Linked DNA regions of Homo sapiens: region 1 is linked to region 2. The links are contacts of gene promoters, found by promoter capture Hi-C in human tissues and cell types (Jung and others, 2019). All regions are on one chromosome and are shown on one strand. Each heading gives the region's core, a stretch centred on a gene start or on the middle of the fragment in contact. The rest is flanking DNA. Distances are from core to core; before and after follow the strand shown. Region 1 overlaps ANO4 (anoctamin 4). Region 2 holds the start of UTP20 (UTP20 small subunit processome component).

What was found. The method cuts DNA at HindIII sites, captures the fragments that hold promoters and counts their contacts. A contact is called where the count stands out against the background at its distance.
Region 1: a contact is called between a fragment that was not itself captured here and the fragment with the promoter of UTP20 in region 2, in 2 of the 25 tissues and cell types used here (hippocampus and mesenchymal stem cells).

Annotation. Positions count from the first base shown.
Region 1 is chr12:101,020,993-101,025,964 of GRCh38, forward strand. The region is part of intron 9 of ANO4 (anoctamin 4); the gene reads left to right. Among named protein-coding and RNA genes, the nearest start is that of SLC5A8, 190 kb to the right of the region's middle. The HindIII fragment of the contact is 6,963 bases long and covers 22-4,972 here.
Region 2 is chr12:101,277,849-101,283,408 of GRCh38, forward strand. UTP20 (UTP20 small subunit processome component) reads left to right here and starts at 2,257. Exons shown (of 62, transcript NM_014503.3): 1 at 2,257-2,479; 2 at 3,268-3,348. The coding sequence starts at 2,435. RefSeq lists enhancers at 1,956-2,547, 2,281-2,330. The HindIII fragment of the contact is 9,089 bases long and covers 771-5,560 here.

The sequences.
Region 1 (4,972 bases), core at 2,253-4,752, 260 kb before region 2:
GGAGTAATGGAGGGTTGGCTAGTCAAGGGTAAGAATAACTCTAAAGAATACAGGAATAGCAGATGTTAGGAGCAGCTACCACCTCTGAGAAGACTCCTCGCTACAATGCTAAGCTGCAGATCCTGCTGGAAGAGGTACAGCCATGGCAGTGCAGTTTGCTGGGGGCTCTAGAAATCTGCCCTCTGGAGTACTGGGGGAAGCTGCCTCGAGTGGCTCCAAGGAAGTCATTCTTTGGGAGTTGCTACATCAGCAGCACTACTCTGTGAAGCCCCCCAAGGGGATACTGAAAATCTGCCTTTGAGGAGTACCATGTGTTTCCAGCCACCACGCACTGCAGGAGCTGGGTACTGTAGAAGTATGTGCTACAGAAGCCTGCTGAGATATCATACTGGTATCAGGAAGAGAAACCCCTTCCTCCTCCAGTGTCCCTCCCAGTGTCTTCTGCTGGCAAAGCTTAACATTGAATCAGCTGACAAAGGAGAAATAGTTACAATAGTTACATTATTGCAAAGCAGGCAATGAAGGTGCATTTGGAGCTGAGGGGAAATAAGTTAATATCTGGTGCATAGCCCAGATGACCTGCTCATCAAGCTTTCGGGTAGGGTGAAACTAGAAGGTTGCATTAAATGACAAGACTCAGTAGCTGGCACTCAGCCAAATCCAGCAAGATGACATTTAATAATTTTGCGTTGACCATTTCTAATGTGTATTTTCTTTTCCTTTCAGTCTTTTAAAAAATATTTACTAATTCAGTGAAAATGTTATTTAAACATACATTTGGTTATTAATGAGATTTGAGATTTTTCAAATGCTTATTTTATTCATTTACATTTGTTCGAATAGAAAAGGAAGTACATAAAATTTTACATTAATATCACTGTAAAAAATTAAAAAAATAATTTTTAAGGTAAAGTCTTACAGTCAAATTCAGCAAAACAACTACCTTGGTACAGTGTGGGAGAAATGTTGCTCAACATCATAAGAGGAACAGATTTGAGAGTTGAGCTGAATGCAAGCTTGGTGTGAGTCACTAGCATAATGACTCTGCCAAAAAAAAAAAAAAAAAAACACCTACTTTGATCCCAAGCTGCATAAATTAAAATATAACATGGAGAAATAGATAGCTTTCTAGTCCAGATCTGATTACAACTGGAATATTATGTTTTGTGAGAGTCAATGTATGGGGGTATGGTGAAGTCAAACCTGATTTAGGTCTTTCTTAACTTTGATGGATTTTAGTTAAACACATTCCCATTTCTCTGCATTAGTCATCCTTCCTTGAAACACATTCCTTCAATAAAGTCCTCTGTGACCATTCCAGCTTGAATGAATTCTTCTCTCTTCTGAATTCCTATGGCAACTATTTTTGGAGTCTATTTGATAGTTAGTCATATACAACTCTTCTTTTGTTGTCTTGAACTACATTCAATAACATTATGAAAATCTACCACATAAAGAGAACCACTCATAACATTTGCGTACTGAATAATTTAAATGTTACCTTAGTTACTTTTATATCTTAATTTCTTATTCATTCATATGGTTTTTAGAAACAAACTTAGGATGTGCTATGCATCCTTTTTACGAACTTTTTTCAGTTAACATTGTACCATAAACATACTAGAAAGCAAGTGAGTGAAAGTGAAGTTATTATTGCAGTAGCTGTTCTGAATCACTTCATAAAATGCAAATAACTCCAAATGGCATCTTCACTAATAATGGTATTATCATTTGCAGTACAACTTATGACTCTTTTTTTTTTGTTGAGACGGAGTCTCGGACTGTCACCCAGGCTGGAGTGCAATGGCAAGATCTCAGCTCACTGCAATCTCTGCCTCCCAGGTTCAAGTGATTCTCCTGCCTCAGCCTCCTGAGTAACTGGGATTACAGGTGCCCGCCACCATGCCCGGCTAATTTTTTGTATTTTTAGTGGAGACGGGGTTTCACTATGTTGGCCAGGCTGATCTCAAACTCCTGATCTTGTGATCCGCCTGCCTCGGCCTCTCAAAACGACTCTTTATGAGACACTAGTGTATTAAGAATCTGCAGCTGAATGCTGCTCATCTGGATAATAAGATCCTTAACTGTAAATAAACTGCCTTATTTATCTTTATATCATCACTGCCTAGCACAGTGCCTGGCATATAGTAGGAGTTCAATAAAGGCGTGCTGAACTGAAAAGCTTTTAAATTATTGTGCCTAATTTTGCGTCTCAAAATGTGGGATGCTTTTATAAGCAAAAGAAGGACAGAGACAGTGATTTTTAAATGTTCTGAAGAAGCACAGGAAGTGTAGTATTGTTGCTAGTCAGAAAGGGTCTTTATAAAAGTTTCTTTCATTTGATGAAATAAGGAGTTTTCTATTCAAAGACCTCCATGTGTTGAAAATTGGTAATAGGCCAGGCACATTGGCTCATGCCTGGAATCCCAGAACTTTGGGAGGCTGAGGCAGGAGGATTGCTTGAGCCCAAGAGTCTGAAACCAGCCTGAGCATAATGGTGAAACCCCATCTCTACAAAAAATACAAAAAGTTACCCAGGCGTGGTGGTCAGTACCTATAGTCCCAGCCATCAGGAGGCTGAGATGGGAGGATTACTTCTGGGAGGTCAAGGCGGCAGTGAGCTGAGATTGTGCCACTGCTCTCCAGCCTGGGCAACAGAACAGGAGTCTGTCACAACAAAGAAAAAGAAAATAATAAAAGAAAATTGGTAATGATGAACTGGAATCATATCTAATTAGAAATAACCAATCAGATAGTAAATTATTAAGCCACAACCAAGCATTATGCTGAAAAACATGGAGCAAAACTACTAATGGCCTGTAGATTCAATATTTCATTATCATCTTTGGTTTTGTAAATAAAAGAAATAATATGTTAGAAGAAATTTTAATTTCTTGATAGAACTAATGTTTATCCAGTATTATTTTCTGCCTGAAACTCTTTCTGAAAGTGGCATCTTGCATGAGCCAACATCGATTAGAAATAACATGAAAATACTGATTTGTAGACATGATTCATAAGGATATTTTAGTGGAATGTAAACTGCCACTATGTACATTTTTCAACTTCACTCTGAATTTATTTCAACTGTAAAAATCAAACCTGGTGAAACCCACTTTCAAAATAGAGCCATTTAATAGCTCAACAAAGATTTATTTAACAATGTGGGTGCATACAATAAATCTTGAAATTGATTTGTATTTTTGAATTTGGTGCTTAGAGGAGAAATTAGTAAAGTGAAAAAGATTTCAAATATTGGCTACTTTCTCACTTTGCAGGACTTTGATAAATTATGATAAACTTATAAAAGTTATCATCTGAGGCCAGGCACGGTGGCTCATGCCTATAATCCCAGCACTTTGGGAGGCCAAGGCAGGTGGATCAGTTGAGGTCAGGAGTTCGAGATCAGCCTGACCAACGTGGTAAAACTCCATCTCTACTAAAAATACAAAAATTAGCTGAGCATGGTGGCACTCACCTGTAATCCCAGCTACTTGGGAAGCTGAGGCACGAGAATTGCTTGAACCCGGGAGGCAGAGGTTGCAGTGAGCCGAGATCGCACCACTGCATTCCAGCCTGGGCAACAGAGTGAGACTCTGTCTCAAAAAAAAAAAAAGTTATCATGTGAGTCTCTTATTAGGTCCTTATGAATCCTATTTTTTCTAACATCTGGGATGTTTGAAAGTTATTGATGAGATATGTAGAATTCCCAATAGAGACTCCAGGGAATCAAAGCTTTCTACATAGTAATTCATTACAAAGGTATTTATTGAGGGCCTCTGGTGCGCTAGACAAACTATAAAGCCTTGTGATATTTGGATTTCAAATGTTTTTCTTAGATATTTAGTATTAATGTGAAGCATCTTAAAACATATTAATGTGTTACTATGATTAAAAGCATCTAAATATTGATTGATCCTCCATCAATGAAAAGTGAATCAGTGCATGTGCCATTTTCCAGTTAGGCTAAACCTCTAGATTCTGGTAAGGATCTAAAGCATAGGTAGCATTCCTCTCAAGCCACTTGAGAAATTATGATAATCTCCTTTGAGGTGTATTTTAGGAAGTAGCAGAAATCTTGATCTGAAAGGAGCTTTAAAGATCAACATGTTAAACTTCCACTTCTGGCCAAGATGGAGCAACAGGCACAAGATTTACTCTCCCACCTGAAACAATCACAAAAGAAAAAACAGACAAAATGTATGAAACAACTATTTTCAAGACACTGAATATTGGGCAACCCAAAACAAGGATCTCTGAGAGACAGAAAACAAATGAAATGAGCCCTGCTGGGCCCTATCTTACCACCTTGACATAGTTTCTAGACAGCACCATGAAAAGTGAGAATGTAGGCAGGACCTGAAAGACTCTCTAAGTTGAGAAGTTGTTGCTAGGAGTTGGGAAACAAAGGCAGCGAGAGTTCACAGAAAGAAGTACCGGAAGGCAGCGAGAGTTCACAGAAGGAAGTACCAGAAAGCAGAGAACTGCACAGGGCTAGAACCTTGAAGATCTGTAGAGGGTCTCCCTCAAGTATTCAGCAAGTGCTGATCAGTGCATACATGTCCGGAGAATACCCAAGGCCAGAGAAAGAACCATCCAAAAGAATTTCCAGTAAGACTGGAACACCTCATAATTCACAGAGCAGTGAGGAGAATACTCAGAAAAGTCTTTCCTCCTGCAAACATAAAGAAAATTTAGCAAATAAAGTTTAACAATGTATAACAAGGGTAATACATCATGACCAAGTAGAATTTATCCTGGACTGCAAGGTTGGCTTAGTATATGAAAATCAATCAATATAATTCACCATAGTAGCAAACTAAAAAAGAAAAACCATATGTTCATATTTATGAACATGGGAAAAGCATTTCACAAAGTTCAACATCCATTACAGATAAAAACTCAGCAAACTACTAATAGAAATTATCTTCCTCAACCTCATAAAATACATCTATGAAATGCTTATAGTTAA
Region 2 (5,560 bases), core at 1,007-3,506:
TTCCAGCATCTATGCTCTCAACCACCATGTTCTATTGACATATTGTTAAGCCAGTCAGAGTCAAGTCAGTGTGTGAGGGTCATGTAATGAAGAACAATGCAAACAATAAATGGTCAATATAACTTGTGTCAGTTCTTTCAGTTTCTTTGATTTTTCTCTTCACTCCTTATTGTCCAGTTAACTCCATTACCAAAAATAAATTGCAGAGAAGGAAAATGGCACAATGATGTGGGGGTGATTTTGGCAACAGGTTGGGAAAATATTGCTTTGAGTGGGGGCTTCTACCCTCAGTTAACTGCAGGCTTCTAACTCTCTGAAACGTGCACATTTTAGTGTGGATGAGCTTCTTTGCATCTTTCTGGGAGAAGTTCTACAGCTTTCTTAGATTTCCCTGTGACCCATAAAAGGCTTTTAAAAAAAAAAGACCAATTATTAGCCTACTGAAAGCCAATGGAACATTAGGCACGTCAATATTTTATTATAAAAAAATCTATAAATGCTATGGAGGCATTAAAATATTTAGAACAACCCTGTGGTGACACAGAAAATGTTGATGTGATAATGCCAATAACAATTTGAAAGTGTTATGTTCACTTTCTCAACTCTGATTACCTCCTCAATCCATGCATATTTCACTTCCTTTCTTCCAACTAGACTGTACTTAGCAAGGTCACCAGTGACCTTCACCTTGTCAGATCCAGCAACCACTTCTCTATCCTCGAATTTGCAGTATAGTTGGCCACCAGCTCTGCTTCCATGCCATAACTAGTCTGTTTCTACCTTACTGGCTCTCTTTCCCAGTCGCAAATGCCTCACACTTGAGGTATTTAGGTGTATTTAAGTCACGTCTGCAGCCCAGACTGCTACAGTGAGCTCTGTACAACAATATATCCAATTGTCTACTTAACATCACTCCTTGACTAAAATGTAAGCATCTCAGACCAAGTATTTCCAGTCTGGGCATGGTGGCTCACCCCTGTAATCCCAGCACTTTGGGAGGCCAAGCCAAGAGGACTGCTTGAGTCCAGAAGTTTGATACCAGCCTGGGCAATATAGCAAGATCCCATCTCTACAAATAATAATAATAATAATAATAATAATAATAATAATAATAAAAGAGCTGGGTGTGGTGGTGCATGCCTGTAGCCCTAGCTACTTGGGAGGCTGAGGTGGGAGGCTCACTTTAGCCCAGGAATTGAAGGCTGTGAATATTTTCAAATAATTAATTAATACTATTATTGCCTTTCTCGTTTGGCTCCCAGAACAGTACCTGGTCCACAGAGGACTCTCAAGAAATAGTTGCTGAATGAATGAATGAATGTAAAATGGGGTAAATAATTATATTTTTAAATTATTTTTTAAAATTGTACATATATGTATATATAACTGTACAATTTAACAACATGCTATGTGTAGACATTAAAGTGATGGGAAAAACACCAAACATTAACAGCGGTTGTGCATGAAATTAAAAGATTTTTCTTAAAACTCCTTCTCTATTTTTCAATTTTATTTACAGCGTAGTGGTTAAGAATACCAAAATTTAGAGTCTGAGTGAAGACTGCCAGTTACCAGCTGCACAACCTTGGTTTCCTCTTGTGTCAAATTGGCTTAAAAATATACACAGTACCGGCCAGGCGCGGTGGCTCACACCTGTAATCCCAGCACTTTGGAAAACCGAGGCGGGCGGATTGCCTGAGCTCAGGAGTTCGCGACCAGCCTGGGCAACAAGGTGAAACCCCGTCTCTACTAAAATACAAAAGAATTAGCCGGGCGTGGCGGCGGGTGCCTGTAGTCCCAGCTACTTTGGACGCTGAGGCAGGAGAACTGCTTGAACCCGGGAGGCGGAGATTGTAGTGAGCCGAGATCGCGCCACTGCCCTCCAGCCTGGGAGACAGAGTGAGACTCCGTCTCAAAAAAAAAAAAAAAAAAGTATATATCTATATATAGATATATAGATAGACGCAGTACCTCCTTTGTATTAACATCCCTAATAAGCTTTACTGTGAAATTATGGATGAAAGGATCTTTGCACGATGCAGGTACGTAGTGAGGGACAGTAATGTTAGTTGATAACGATTACAGGTATGTTTTATTTTATAATGAAAATACATTTGTCTTCTAAACCTTTACCGAAGGGAGTGAAAAGAACACCTCACCCAAACGCCCGCCCTTATGTGCGCAGCCCCGCCTCCTGTAGGCCCCACCCCACCAAAGGGTGCGCCTGCGCCGTTCTTTTTTCCGTCCACGTGACCCACTCAGGCTCCTCCTTGTCTCCAACATGGCGGCGCCCAGGGGCTCAAGCCGCACGTGAGAAAGTCTGGGCATCTGGGAATCGGAGAGTATAGCCTGTGAGCCGCTTTCCCCTCCTTACTGTCGGTTGCATCCCTTCGACACTCCCGAGGCCGTCGCGGGCCACTGGCCCTCTGCAGCCATGAAGACAAAGCCCGTTTCCCACAAGACCGAGAACACCTACCGGGTGAGCGCGGGAGCTTAGGCAGGGAGCCGCGGGTCTCCGCTGCCTCAGTCGTGAGACAGGCTCTGAGCGAGACTCCAGGGGCCTCAGACTTCTGGGCCGAGTGTGTCACTTTCCTGGAGGCTCCGGCGAAAGAGGGAGACACTGGATGTAGTAAACATGGGTTGGAGGAGGAAAGAAGTGTGGACAGCAAGTTTCACCCATGTTTTATGGGGTCTGGCCAGTCCTGGGAATTTCCTGTAGTCCAGAATTAAATTCACTATTCCAGGAGATTGCTTAGGACCAATTCTCCCCTGCTCTTTTATCTTTAAAGACCGAATTGGGCGAGTCGGCTGGCGGTGAGTGATTCCCAGCTAAGGGCAAATATACAGCGCTTTCTCTGTTTGCCCCTTGATAGATTGTTTCCAGGTCTTCCTTAGGATACAATCATAGGTCTGTATATGTTTAAAAACACTTTTATTGCAGCGACTTTGCTAGGTCCCCATGCTTATGGGAGGGTATGAAACCTAATAGATCTAGCGAGACTAATTGCCAGCATCCACCTAGGCTCACCAGTCTGGCAATGGAAATTTTATTTGAAATGACATAGCTGAGAGAAATTATGCAAACATAGAAGTATTCATTATCTTTGAACAGTGATGCAGTAAATTTGTTTACGGCCGTATGTTTTTCAGTTTATTTTTCCACTTATCCTTTGTGATTAGAGATGCCTACATGCAGCATTCAAATAGATATTAAAGATCTGATAAATTTTAATTAATTATGTATCTTAAATATACTTTCCCTTCCAGTTTCTTACATTTGCTGAACGACTGGGGAATGTTAATATTGATATTATTCACCGGATTGATAGAACTGCAAGCTATGAGGAGGTAAGAGAATGTGATACTAGTCAATCTTCAAGTGTTCATGGTGTTTTAGTTTCTTCTGTTAGTAGAAGTGAATTGTTTTTCAAGGTATTCCTTTTTGGACATGAAATGCTTTAGACCTGTGCTGTTTCATACAGTAGCCACATATGACAAATTGGATTTAAAGTAAATTAAAAATTTGGGTGCCCAAATGTGGCTAGTTGCTAACATATTGAATAAATATAGAATTGGAACATTTTCATCTTTGCAGAAAGTTCTGTTGGGTGAAGCTCTATTAGACAATTGACTTGACTTTCAGCTGTCTTTGTGATTCTAGCCTCTCCCTTTCCCTTATGCATTCCAAGCACTGCTGCAGATCCATATTCCTGAAGCTATAACTTTAAAGTGATTTTGAGGAAGCCCTTTTCCCGGGGCTTAATTTTCTCCTTTATAAAAATAAAGGGGCTAGACTACATAATATTTTCCAGTTTTAACCATACTCTGACTCTGTCATCCCTTTATTTTACTTTTATTTATTTATTCATTTTTTTGAGATGGAGTCTCGCTCCGTCTCCAGGTTGGAGTGCAGTGGCGTGATCTTGGCTCACTGCAATCTCCACCTCCCAGGTTTAAGCGATTCTCCTGCCTCAGCCTCCCGAGTAGCTGGGATTACAGGTACGTGCCACCACACCCAGCTAATTTTTGCATTTTTAGTAGAGACGGGGTTTTGACATGTTGGCCAGGATGGTCTCAATCTCCTGACCTCGTGATCTGCTCGCCTTGGCCTCCGAAAGTGCTGGGATTACAGGTGTGAGCCACCACGCCCGGCCTTGTCATCCTTTTATGCAGAAGTCTTTTTCTGCATCATGTCGTTATTCCTCCTAGCATTTTAAGGTCGTACGTAACATGCCTATACCTTGGCGATCCAATCTCAGTTCGTAATATTCTTCTTTACTATAATCAGACTCCACTCGCTGGGTCTTTGAATGCATTATCTCCACTGTGTAAATTCAATGTGTTAAATGATGTCGTCTAGGTGAGCACATTGTGCTTTGAGAACTCATAGTAAAGGGAACCTAACCTACATTCTTTAGGGGTGTCAAAAAAACGGTGATCTAGACGAGGTGACACCTGAATTTTGTTTATATAGGTTTTAGCATGGTAAAGAGGACAGGAAAGCCTGTTCCAGGCTGAGGGAGAAGCCTATATAAAGGAACAGAAGCTAGAGAATGCATGTCACATTCAAGAAACTGCAAAGCAGTCCAGTGTGGTTATAGGTGTGTATAGGGTGTTTTTTTTTTGTATTCATGGTGACTGGGATGGGGCAAGGGGGCAACTGGTGAGATAAAGCTGGAGAAATAGGCAAGGATCATAAAGGACTTCATATGTGAAGCTAAGTTGGGGTTTTATCCTGAAGCTGTAGGGACTTAGAGTTCTAGGACTGTAAGCAGGGGAATGAATGACATGATCAGGTTTAAATTTTCAATCTCTCTGGCTTTAGTGTGGAGAAAAGAGCAGGACTGCAGTTCTTCATCATGTCATGATTCCTCTGCTAGCCTTTTAAGGTCCTGTGTAACATGCCTTTAACTTGGAGATCCAATCTCAGTTGTCCAGTTGTGAGGATTTGACTGTTATCTAAGTAAGAAATGATTATGGTAGCAGCAATCAAGATAGAGAGAAGAGAAAGATTCCAGAGATGTTGAGGAAGTAGAATGAATGGATAGGACTTGTGACCTACTGGGTTTGCAGCAAGGAAGATAATGAGGTTAAGGCTGAATGGTTGAGGATGTTACTCATCAAGATATATTTATAGGTAAAGGAGCACAAGGTTGTAAAGATAAGATAATTAGTTCCATTTGGGGCTTGAATTTGAAATACCTTTGGCCATCCAAATGATAGTGTCCAAAAGATGTTTGTATATATGGATCTGGAGTATAGGTGACTTCAGAGGTGAAATTACAGATTTGGCATTTAGAATATGATTAATAATTTAAGCCACAGGAGAGGTTGAAGGTATCAAGAGGCAGTGTTAAGAAGGCAGAGAAGACAGCCTGAAATTAGAATCCTGGACTGGATGGTCCAGAATGGCCTCTGTCACGTGTCTGGCAGTTGGCTGTGGCTTGTTGATCTTGGTTCTTTTCATGGCCTCTTATTCCCCAATAAGCTAGACTAGGCTTCTTTTCATGGTGGCAGAATCTTTTCAATAGAGTGAAGGCAGAAGCTGTCAAGACCTCAT